2 separate regions of the Homo sapiens genome follow, and region 1 is linked to region 2. The links are contacts of gene promoters, found by promoter capture Hi-C in blood cells and fetal thymus (Javierre and others, 2016). All regions are on one chromosome and are shown on one strand. The core of a region is centred on a gene start or on the middle of the fragment in contact, and the rest is flanking DNA. Distances in the headings are between cores, read along the strand shown. Region 1 has its middle 9.0 kb from the start of SNHG20. Region 2 holds the start of JMJD6 (jumonji domain containing 6, arginine demethylase and lysine hydroxylase).

Region 1 (5,967 bases), core at 3,422-5,921, 350 kb before region 2:
GATGACTTTTGGGGAACATATTTAGGCCATAGCACTAAGTGAGCACTGGACTGGCTTCAAATCCCCCAGATCTCCAGCTTTCCCACTCATGCATGTTCTCTCTCTCCGTCCCTCCCTCTTCTAAAGTAAGTTTACTAACCTCTTGCCTCAGTTACTTTTTCTGTAAAATGGGAATCATAATTCATAATCTCACATGATTTCTGAGGATTCAGTGAGGATTGACGTGTAAAGCACTCAGAAGTCATGTGAGAAGTGCTGGCTCTCCTAGGGAGGTAGACAGGAGCCTCTGGGGTGCCCTGGTTAAATAGTCACTGTTTTTCACAGTTCAGAAAAGCCCTCAACATCACAGGCTCATGGGACCCCATTAAGAGCCTGCATCATGGCTTTGGGGATGGATCTATTTGATTCCAGTGGGGGCAGCCCCATCCAATAGAAATATAATGCAGGCCACATAAGTCATTTTAGATTTTCTGGTAGTCACAGTAAACAATACAAAGAAACAGATGATGTTAATTTTAAGGACACGCATGGTGGCTCACACCCGTAATCCAGCACTTTGGGAGACTGAGGTGGGTGGATCACTTGAGGTCAGGAGTTCAAGACCAACCTGGGCAACCTGGTGAAACCCCATCTGTACTCAAAATACAAAAATTAGCCAGGCATGGTAGCACACGCTTGTAATCCCAGCTACTCAGGAGGCTGAGGCGGGAGAATTGCTTGACCTCGGAGATGGAGGTTGCAGTGCGCCAAGATCATGCCACTGCACTCCAGCCTGGGTGACAGAGCAAGACTCTGTCTCAAAAAAAGAAAAGAAAAGAAAAAGAAACAGGTGGCTCACATCTGTAATCCCAGCACTTTGGGAGGCTGAAGTGGACAGATCACTTGAGACCATGAGTTTAAGACCAGCCTAGCTGACATGATGAAACCCCGTCTCTAATAAAAATACAAAAACTAGCCAGGCATGGTGGCACACACTTGTAATCCCAGCTACTCAGGAGGTTGAGGTATGAGAATTGCTTGAACCTGGGAGTCAGAGGTTGCAGTGAGCTAAGATTGCACCATTGCACTTAAGCCTGGGCAACAGAGCAAGACTCTGTCTCAAAAAATTTTTTTTAAACTTTATTTTATTTAAGAGATAAAAATATGATCATAACATGTAATCATATAAAAACTGTTAGACCAATTTTACTTTCTTTTCTGTATTAAGTCAGAAATTGGTGTGTGGTTCCTGCTTATGACACCTCTCAATTCACGCTGACCGCAGGTCAGGGGCTTAGTAGCCACATGGGGCTCATGGCTGCCACAGTGGATGGCGCAGAGCTAGGAGCTTTTGTCTCCCCAAGCCCAATCCTTGAAATCTTGGGATATAAAGGAAGGAAGGGAGGGAGGAAATTGGCATGATCGCCTCGGCTGGCCAGGTATCTGGCTTTGTGCTAGTTATTTTCCTGTGCAGTATGTCATTTAACTTCAAAGCAACCCTAGGGATGAGGTATTGTTGTGCTTATGTTTTAGTTTGTTATTTTTTATTTTTATTTTTATTTGAGACAGAGTCTTGCTCTGTCACCCAGGCTGGAGTGCAGTGGTGTGATCTCGGCTCACTGCAACCTCCGCCTCCCGCCTCCCAGGTTCAAGTGATTCTCCTGCCTCAGCCTACTCGGGAGGCGCACACTGCCACACCTGGCTAATTTTTTTTTTTTTTTTTGTATTTTAGTAAAGGAGGGGTTTCACCATGTTGGCCAGGCTGGTCTGGAACTCCTGAGCTCACACAATCCACCCACCTTGGCCTCCCAAAGTGCTAGGATTACAGGCATGAGCCACTGCGCGCACCCTGTGCTTATGTTTTTTTTTGTTTGTTTTGTTTTTGTTTTATTTTTGAGACAGAGTCTCGCTGTGTTGCCAGGCTGGAGTGCAATGGTGCGATCTCAGCTCACTGCAACCTCCGCCTCCTGGGCTCAAGCAACTCTCCTGCCTCAGCCTCCCAAGTGAATGGGATTACAGGTGCATGCCACCACGCCCAGCTAATTTTTGTGTTTTGAGTAGAGACGGGGTTTCACCATGTTGGCCAGGATGGTCTAGAACTCCTGACCTCAGGTGATCCTCCCACCTCAGCCTCCCAAAGTGCTGGGATTACAGGTGTGAGCCACTGCACCTGGCCATGTTTTAAAGGCTCAGAAAGACTAAGTGACTTGCTTGAGGCCACCCAGGAAACAAGAAATATGGTCAATATTTTAAGCTTCCAGGCCAGGCGCGGTGGCTCAGGCCTGTAATCCCAGCACTTTGGGAGGCCGAGCCGGGCAGGTCACGAGGTCAGGAGATCGAGACCATCCTGACTAACACGGTGAAACCCTGTCTCTAGTAAAAATACAAAAAATTAGCTGGGCGTGGCGGCGGGGGCCTGTAGTCCCAGCTACTCGGGAGGCTGAGGCAGGAGAATGGCGTGAACCTGGGAGGCGGAGCTTGCAGTAAGCCGAGATCGCGCCACTGCACTCCAGCCTGGGTGACAGAGCGAGACTCCATCTCAAAAAAAAAAAAGAAAAAAAAAAGATTTTAAGCTTCCAAATCCCTGATTGCTCCCTATGGTCTGCTGGAATCAATGATGTCCTCAAAGTCATCCCAGTGGCCATTTCTCCAAGCTGGCCATTCCTTTCTACCTGTAACACATTCCTCCCAACTCCCAACTGCCACCCCCTGGCTTCTGGCCCAACAACTTACTCAGGTTGTGTGTTTGTCTGTGTGTGTGTGTGTGTTTTAAGATGGGGTCTTGCTATGTTGCCCAGGCTGGTCTCAAACTCCTGAGCTCAGGCGATCCTCCTGCCTCAGCCTCCCAAGGTGCTGGGATTACAGGTTGCTCAGGGGTTTGGCTGCCAGGATATCTGGCCAATTCCAGTAATGGCCAGTCCTATCCTCCCAGACCATTTCCCTGGGGCTGCTCTTTGGGTGAGACTAGGAGGCCTGGGGAGTTTTGTGATTGCAGCTCTCCCCAGGCTGCAAACTCACCTGGGCAGCTGAAAGCAGACATCTTCGGTTATACTTTCTGTACAAAGATCCAGCTGGGAGCTTAAGTGTCTCCTTATGGTGCCTGGATTTATGCTCTTGCAAAAGGGGCTGGCGGGCACATACAGGCAGCCCCAGAGCCCACCTGCATCATGATTACAAGCTTTCAGGCTGGCAGCTGGTTCGTTACTATTAAAACTATTTATTTAGCCGGGCACTTTAAGAGGCCTCTGTGATTACTGTCACTCGGCGGGACAGCCAGGAGCCAATTTTCTGAGGATGATAGATTTCTTCTCATTTGTTGCTCTCAAGCTGTGGGTTCCTTCCGTGTTGTGGAGCAAATCACAAGATGCTATCTCCTGGGACTCAAAAGGGGGTTTCAAAGCTGCCCTTGGGCTGCCCCATCAGTCACTTCTGCAAAATAGCAGGGACGTTTCAGGAGCCCGAAGAGGCTGCAGTGACTACCCCCTAAGACACAAAGGAAGCCTTTCGAGGAGGAGGGAGAGGTGGGAAGGCTGGGGAGGAGGGTAGAGGACAGCCTGGAGTTCCTGCTTGGATGTCCTCAGAGCTGTGGTTCTCAACGTTGTTTGCACATCAGAATCATCTGGGAGCTTGAAAATAACTGAAGCCAGCTGGGTGTGGTGGCTGACACCTGTAATCTCAGCAGTTTGGGAGGATCACTTGAAGTCAGGAGTTCGAGACCAGCCTGGCCAACATAGTGAAACCCTGTCTCTACTAAAAATACAAAAATTAGCTGGCCATGGTGGCAGGCACCTGTAATCCTAGCTACTCAGGAGGCTAAGGCAGGAGAATCGCTTGAATCCAGGAGGTGGAGGTTGCAGTGAGCCGGAATTGTGCCACTGCACTCCAGCTTGGGTAACGGAGTGAGACTCTGTCTCAAGGAAAAAAAAAAAAAAAAAAAGATACCGAAGCCGGGTACCAAGTACTGACATTCTGATTTTATGGGTGTGGGTGTGGCTTGGGGAGCAGGATGTTTCGAAGCTCCCTGGGTGATTCCAGTGTGCTAGATTAGAGGTGCCCTACATGGTCCTGCAGATGTGTGAACAGACTGGGATAGTCCCCGGTCAGGAGAAATTGTCCAAGACTTGGAGATGGACAAGAGGGATTCTGGGCATGCTTCCCATGGGGTTCAGGGCCGGGTTTCAGGGATTGCCTGTTTACACAGGACTCTGTTTGCTGTCTTTCTGTTGACCAGGCTGTTTTATTTATTTATTTATTTATTTAGAGATGGAGTCTCGCTCTGTCGCCCAGGCTGGAGTGCATTGGCACCATCTCGGCTCACTGCAACCTCCATTTCCTGGGTTCAAGAGAGTCTCCTGCCTCAGCCTCCCGAGTAGCTGGGATTACAGGCATGTGCCACCACGCCCGGCTAATTTTTGTATCTTTAGTAGAGACGGGGTTTCGCCATTTTGGCCAGGCTGGTCTCAAACTCCTGACTTCAGGTGATCTGCCTGCCTTGGCCTCCCATAGTGTTAGAATTACAGGCATGAGCCACTGCACCCAGCCTGACCAGGCTTTTTTAATTCTCTGATAGGGGAGACATTAAATGGTAGAAAATGGAAATAATGATTGTCCATAACAATGTAAATGGATTTTGTCCCACAGAGATACAGTTGGTGTCCGTCCCATAGAAAAGATGACTGTAAACATTACATTTTATTGCCCCGTAGGACACTGACCCACTTGGTATCTATTAGCAAATCCATCCTAGCATTCCTAACTGCATCTGTATATGGCTGATTTTCAAATTCTGTTTTCAACTGCTCTCCACATCTCATTGGTTCCCTCATTAATTCACAAGTTGAATGAAATTATTTACACGTTTATTTTATAGTTGAAAGCCATGTTTGCAACTTTTTGAAAAGTACCATTTGGCTTCCCTCCAGGGAGAGCCATGCCCCTTCCTCCTTAACCCTCCGTGCCCGGTACCCCACCTGGCTGTGGCTCTATCACACAGTACTGTCTCCCCAGCTACGCTAGGGTCCTGGGAACCTGCACTTCATCCTGCTGGTTAGGTCTTGTGACGTCTGTATTCACTGCACCTGGTCCAGGGTCAGGGAAAGAGGAGGTGCTCAATAAATGTTTCTGGAGAGCCTCGCCCCATGGGTCACCAGCATGGATTACCCAGGTCACTTCATCAGCACCCAATTCACTGTGGGTTTTTTTTATTTTTTGAGACAGAGTCTCACTCTGTCACCCAGGCTGGAGTGCAGTGGCTCAATCTCAGCTCACTGCAAGTTCCGCCTCCCGGGTTCAAATGATTCTCCTGCCTCAACCTCCTGAGTAGCTGGGACTACAGGCACCTGCCATCACGCCCAGCTAATTTTTGTATTTTTGTAGAGACAGGGTTTCACCATGTTGGCCAGGCTGGTCTTGAACTCCTGACCACAGGTGACCCGCCTGCCTCAGCCTCCCAAAGTGCTGGGATCACAATCATGAGCCACCGTGCCCCGCCCAAATGGTAGTTTTTATACCTTTACACATGTAAGCAAAGATACTTGCCCAGAAAAATTCGATTGTACCTGGAGCGTCACTCAGAAGGACAATATATATAGGGATTTGAACCCAGAAGACATGTCATCAAGTACGATATTTAGGGCATGTGGTTCTTCAAAGACTCTCTACATCTACTGTTTCTTAGCTTCTTGGATGCTCAGTGATGCTTGCAAAGAAAAATCTCCATCCCAGCACATTCTACAACATGTCAGCGTCACTGTGCCATTCATTACAGTTCTTTTCTTCTCGCATCTTTCTTTAAAAACAGCAGCTACAGAAGGAGTCGCATGCCTGTGTTTTATAACTCCTTTCTCTCTCCTGTTGACTTCCTGGCAAGTGTTTGATTTCATTATGACATGGAGAATCAACTTTGGGCCGCGGGAGGCTCATCGAGCTGCTGTAATGGCTGGGCGTTTATTCATCATCCCCTCCCATGCTGCTTCTAGCCTTGACAGT
Region 2 (6,246 bases), core at 2,603-5,102:
TCACACTTTTCTTTTTTCTTAGAGACAGCGTCTCACTATGTTGACCAGGCTGGTATCAAACTCCTGGGCTCAAGTCATCTTCCCACCTCGACCTTCCAAAGTACTGGGATTACAGGTGTGAGCCATCACACCCAGTATCTTCTTTAAAAAACCACTTTTTTTTTTTTTTGAGATGGAGTCTCGCTCTGTTGCCCAGGCTGGAGGGCAATGGTGCGATCTTTGCTCACTGTAACCTCCGCCTCCAGGGTTCAAGCAATTCTGTTTCAGCCTCCCGAGTAGCTGGGATTACAGGCGTGCACCACCAGGCCCGGCTACTTTTTGTATTTTTAGTAGAGATGGGGTTTCACCACATTGGCCAGGCTGGTCTCGAACTCCTGACCTCAAATGATGCACCCGCCTCAGCCTCCCAAAATGCTGGGATTACAGGCGTGAGCCACCATGCCCAGCCGAAAAACCACTTTTTAAATGAAAAAAAGTTCCAGGATAATCTCTGTACCTTAAGACAAAAACAAAACAACATTCTTAGCTCACAGACCTTACAAACTAGCTAAATTACCCGATTTAAAAATATTTAACAAAAGCTAAAAACAAGCAATATACACATGTCAACTTAACACATCTGAACATAACCTAGAACTCTGGAAACTTCAGGGGCATTTGTACCTCTAAGATGGCCTTGCCTGGCAGAGATCTTCTGTGAAACCAAAGGTACTGGGCCAGGACCACAGCACAGGGCCAAACATACATTCCATACTGGAGATGCAGGACCTGAAAAGAATGTTTTTGTGTGCCATAAATAATTTAGCTGCTGGAAGTTGGAATCATTCATACAGCAATTTCTGTCAGGCATTGGCATCCATTACAAAAATGGCAGCCCTGTTCACCAATCCACGACCTTTGGGGATATAAAACTGCAATGCAATGTGATAGAAACTCTTGATAGCACTGTTTATTCAACAAGTGCTTCTAGTGTCACAGTATCAGGGATCATTCTCAGACTGGGGATATAGCTCTCCCTGAGCACATATCCTACTGTAGAGAGGCAACGAGCAAGCAAATAAGATATTTCTAGTCAGGGGCCGGGCACGGTGACTCAGGCCTGTCATCCCAGCACTTTGGGAGGATGAGGCGGGCGGATCACCTGAGGTCAGGAGTTTGAGACCAGCCTGGCTAACATGGTGAAACCCCTGTCTCTACTAAAAATACAAAAAATTAGCCGGGCATGGTGGCACGTGCCTGTAATCCCAGCTGAGGCGGGAAAATCGCTTGAACACGGGAGGCGGAGGTTGCAGTGAGCCGAGACTGCGCCACTGCACTCCAGCCTGGGCAACATAGTGAGACTACGTTTCAAAAAAAAATGGCCGGGCGTGGTGGGTCACGCCTGTAATCCCAGCACTTTGGGAGGCCGAGGTGGGTGGATCATCAGGTCAGGAGATCGAGACCATCCTGGCTAACGCGGTGAAACCCCGTCTCTACTCCACTAAAAATACAAAAAAATTAGCCGGACATGGTGGTGGGCACCTGTAGTCCCAGCTACTCCGGAGGCTGAGACAGGAAAATGGCGTGAACCCGGGAGGCAGAGCTTGCAGTGAGCAGAGATCTCGCGACTGCACTCCAGCCTGGGCGACAGAGCAAGACTCCAACTCCAAAAAAAAAAAAAAAAAAGGAAAGAGGCTTCTATTCTCACAGGCAATATCATCACCCCCTACATTTAGGAAGAAATGCAAGTGTATTTAAACGTGAAGCCAGCCGGGAGCGGTGGCTTACACCTGTAATCCCAGCACTTTGGTAGGCCGAGGCAGGTGCATCACCTGAGGTCAGGAGTTCAAGATCAGCTTGGCCAACATGGCAAAACCCCGTCTCTACTAAAAATACAAAAATTAGCCAGGCATGGTGGTGGGCGCCTATAATCCCAGCTACTTGGGAGGCTGAGGCAGGAGAATCACTTGAACCCACGAGGCGGAGGTTGCAGTGAGCTGAGATTGTGCCACTGCACTCGTCTGGGTGACAGAGCGAGACTCCATCTCCAAAAAAAAAAAAAAAAATCCGTGAAGCCAGATTGGGTGTGGTGGCCAATGCCTGTAGTCTCAGTTACTTGAAAGGCTGAGGTGGGAGGATCACTTGAGCCCAGAGGTTGAGGTTGCAGTTAGCAAAAAAAAGTGAAGCTGTTTGGAAACAATCAGAAATAGCCTCCACTCCAGTCTTTTTTTTTTTTTTTCTTCTTGACAATGTCTTGCTCTGTTGCTCATGCCTGAGTGCAGTGGCCTGATCATAGCTCACAGCAGCCTCGACCTCTCGGGCTCAAGCAATCCTCCCACCTCACCCTCCGGAGTAGCTGGGGCTACAGGCACAAGCCACGATGCCTAATTTTTCTACTTTTTGTAGAGACGTAGTATCACTATATTGCCCAGGCTGGTCTGGAACTCCTGGTCCCAAGCGATCCTCCCGCCTCCGCCTCCCATTTAACTTCTCTAAAGCTGTTTCTTTAGCATGGGACATGCCTCACAGGCTGGTGTTAAAACCAAATGAAATACTGCAAAGTGAAAGTGCTTTGAAAAACCGAAGACAGGCAGGGCATGGTGGCTCACTCCTGCAATCCCAGCACTTAGGCAGGCGGGAGGATCACTTGAATCCGGGAGTTGGAGGTTGCAGTGAGCTGTGATCGCGCCACTGCGCTCCAGCCTGGGCGCCAGAGCGAGACAGTGTCTCAAAAAAAAGAAAAGAAAAAGAATTATTATTGAGAGTTTTGTTGTAGCTGTGAGCTTAGAGGAAGAAGCGAGGTCCAACCCAAGAAACACTTTGGGCACCAAATAAAACTGGAAACCCTGATCCCAAAACTCACACAAAAGTGAGAGATAAGGATGAATCAAGAAACCCTTGGACAAGATCAAAAGAAGCATTAGAGGTCAGTCAAGAATGTCACTTTCCTGGCAGGAAAGATTCGATGTGGAGAAAGCCGGCCCGGCGCAGTGGCTCATGCCTGTAATCCTAGCACTTTGGGAGGCCGAGGCAGGAGGATCACTTAAGCTTACAGTTCGAGACCAGCCTGACCAACATAGTGACCAGGGTCACTTCTTGGCAGGGTCTCCAAAATTCTTACTGAGAGACATTTAATGCACCGAAGGGCTTCATATCCGACGTTTTTGCTCCGGGGGTCAACCTAAAGCAGGAAGCTGCGCAGCTGAGCGTCCGCACCCCCGGTCCCTCAGGAACCCAGCCAAGTCAGCCGACATCCGCTCCTGACCTCAGGCGCCTCCTGGCGGGTGCTGCTGCACGCACCTGCGGGACGTGGACCTCCAGGACAGCCCCGTCGGCCCCCGGACCCGGCTCCTCCGAGAATCGAAAGCGCTGGGCCCGGACCCCCTGTCCTCGGAAATCGTGCTCGCCCAGTAGGGCGTCGTTGGGCCCCGGGCGGGCGGGGGACCGCGGAAGGCTCCGGGCTGCCAGACTGCGCGAGCGGGAAGCCGCGGGCCACGTGGCCGTAGCACCTGACGGCAAGAAGGGGAAAGCCCAGATCTGGTGATAACCCTGCCGCGCTGCGAGCGAAGAAAGCCCGGAGCAAGGCGAAAGAGACTCACACGCGCAGAACTGGCAACGGGCGGCTGGCGCGACCGGAAGTGATGGGCACAGCGGCAGCGCGGGAGGGGAGGGGCGGGGCGGGGCGGGGCGGTGACGCAGCCGACGTGACCTTCCCAACATGGCGGAGGCCCGCCGTATGTGAAGGAGTACCCCAGGGGAGCCAAAGCCAATGGAAAACCGCGAGAGGCGTCGGGGCGGGGAAGACGGCGGCCGCTTGCCCAACCCGAGGCTCGGGAGGTGGCTGGGGAGTGAATTTTCTGGAAGGCGACTTTAAAGGCGCCGGGACTGAGCGAAGGGCGTTTGGGTACTGCCGTCGCCGCCGCCCAGGCCGGGGAGGGGTGCGTTAGTGTCAGGAAGCGGGCTGCGCCGAGGTCGTAGCGGAACCAGCTGGCGACCCCGCAGAATGAACCACAAGAGCAAGAAGCGCATCCGCGAGGCCAAGCGGAGTGCGCGGCCGGAGCTCAAGGACTCGCTGGATTGGACCCGGCACAACTACTACGAGAGCTTCTCGCTGAGCCCGGCGGCCGTGGCGGTGAGCGGGTCGGGCGGGGGTGGCCAGGCCGGGCATCGGCACCTCCAGCCGCTACGCACCTTTCTCTGGGCCCGAGGCTGCCCTCGCCCCGAGCGCCCGGGACCTCGTAGAGGCTCACCCGCACCCCGCGGAGTTTGGGGTCCCCGAGGCGCGGATTCCGGGGCGGGTCTGCTTCCTCCCGTGCTGTGGCCGCCCGTCTGCTCTGGCGGACGACGGGAGTCCCACGCCTGTGGCGCTCTCAACTAGAAGGCCCGTCGTCCCTGACTCCTTTGGGCGGCGGGTCCCCTAGGGGACCTGGCTGTCAAGGCTCATGGGGGGTGGCTCTAGGAACGACGTGGCCTCACGCACGCGCCCTGCCCCCACCCCGGAGGAGCCAGACGAGAGTCAACTTCCTTCGGTTTGTCATTACCAGTTGGCCTTGGGGACACCCTTATCTGCCACTGGACTTTTTTTTTTTTTTTAACTGGACAGGTCTTTTTTAATTCCCTCAGGATAACGTGGAAAGGGCAGATGCTTTACAGCTGTCTGTGGAAGAATTTGTGGAGCGGTATGAAAGACCTTACAAGCCCGTGGTTTTGTTGAATGCGCAAGAGGGCTGGTCTGCGCAGGAGAAATGGACTCTGGAGCGCCTAAAAAGGAAATATCGGAACCAGAAGTTCAAGTGTGGTGAGGATAACGATGGCTACTCAGTGAAGATGAAGATGAAATACTACATCGAGTACATGGAGAGCACTCGAGATGATAGTCCCCTTTACATCTTTGACAGCAGCTATGGTGAACACCCTAAAAGAAGGAAACTTTTGGAAGACTACAAGGTGCCAAAGTTTTTCACTGATGACCTTTTCCAGTATGCTGGGGAGAAGCGCAGGCCCCCTTACAGGTAAAGTATTCTGCAGCTAAGTGGTTAAAATCCTTTTCTTTTTTTTTTTTTTTTTTTTTTGAGACAGAGCGTCACTCTTGTAGCCCAGGCTGCAGTGCCGTGGTGCGATCTCGGCTCACAGCAACCTCCATCTCCCGAGTTCAAGCGCTTCTCCTGCCTCAGCCTCCTGTAACTGGGATTACAGGCATGCGCCACCACACCCAGCTAATTTTGTATTTTTAGTAGAGACGGGGTTTCACCATGTTGGTCAGGCTGGTCTCGAACTCCCGACTTCAGGTGATCTGCCCGCCTCGGCCTCCCAAAGTGCTGCGATTGCAGGTGTGAGCCACCGCGCCCGGCCTGTGGTTAAAATCTTATCTACAACAGCATTTGCTCGCTGAGTTCAGTTGCTAATCTTTTTTGGAAACAGTGAGTACTCCCTCGGCTGTACATTGAACTCATTTAGGGGGCTCCTGAGGCCTGCCTGGGCCCTACTGGGGAGACTGATTTAATTCGGGTGATGCCTGCGCATCAGAATTTCTGAAAGCTCTTCAGGTGACTTGAATGTGCAGCTATGGTTGAAGCACTGATCTCTAAGGGAGGTTTTAATAAAGTCCAGCAATAAACCACATTAGTGATTTTTCTTTTTTTTTCTTTTTTTTTTCTTCATTGAGATGGAGTCTCCCTCTGTCGTCCAAGCTGGAGTGCAGTGGCGCAATCTCAGCTCACTGCAGCCTCCGCCTCCCGGGTTCAAGCAATCCTCCTGTCTCAGCCTCCTGAGTAGCTGGGATTACAGGTGCCCACCACCACACCCGGCTAATTTTTGTATTTTCAGTAGAGATGGGGTTTCACCGTATTGGTCAGGCTGGTCTTGAACTCCTGACCTCAGGTGATGCACCCACCTCTGCCTCCCAAAGTGCTGGGATTACAGGCGTGAGCTACCGCCCCAGCTGATTTTTCTTATTTTGTTAGGAATCAGTCCATGAACAATGCACCCAGTGTTTCTGTGTACCAGAATTTATATAATCTCTGAAATAAAGATGACATATCACATAAAATTAAAACCTGGCCAGGTGCGGTGGCTCAAGCCTGTTATTCCAGCACTTTGGGAGGCCGAGGCAGGTGATCACTTGAGGCCAGGAGTTCGAGACCAGCCTAGGCAACATGGTGAAACCCTGTCTCTACTAAAAATACAAAAATTAGCCAGGCGTGGTGGTGTGCGTCGGTAATCCCAGCTACTCAGGAGGCTAAGGCAGGAGAATCACATGAACCTGGG

Evidence for each region. Contacts are between HindIII fragments. The CHiCAGO score rates a contact against its expected background, and 5 or more counts as called.
Region 1: a contact is called between a fragment that was not itself captured here and the fragment with the promoter of JMJD6 in region 2, in 1 of 17 cell types (endothelial precursors). The highest score is 5.5, in endothelial precursors.

The regions. Positions count from the first base shown.
Region 1 is chr17:77,076,655-77,082,621 of GRCh38, reverse strand. No RefSeq gene overlaps it. Among named protein-coding and RNA genes, the nearest start is that of SNHG20, 9.0 kb to the left of the region's middle. The HindIII fragment of the contact is 3,023 bases long and covers 3,160-5,967 here.
Region 2 is chr17:76,724,212-76,730,457 of GRCh38, reverse strand. JMJD6 (jumonji domain containing 6, arginine demethylase and lysine hydroxylase) reads left to right here and starts at 3,852. Exons shown (of 6, transcript NM_015167.3): 1 at 3,852-4,111; 2 at 4,603-4,991. The coding sequence starts at 3,983. METTL23 (methyltransferase 23, arginine) reads right to left here and starts at 3,619. Exons shown (of 5, transcript NM_001080510.5): 1 at 3,280-3,619; 2 at 664-768. The coding sequence starts at 747. RefSeq lists enhancers at 803-1,433, 2,091-2,719, 3,350-3,979 and silencers at 3,239-3,688, 3,799-3,928. The HindIII fragment of the contact is 10,785 bases long and covers 3,030-6,246 here.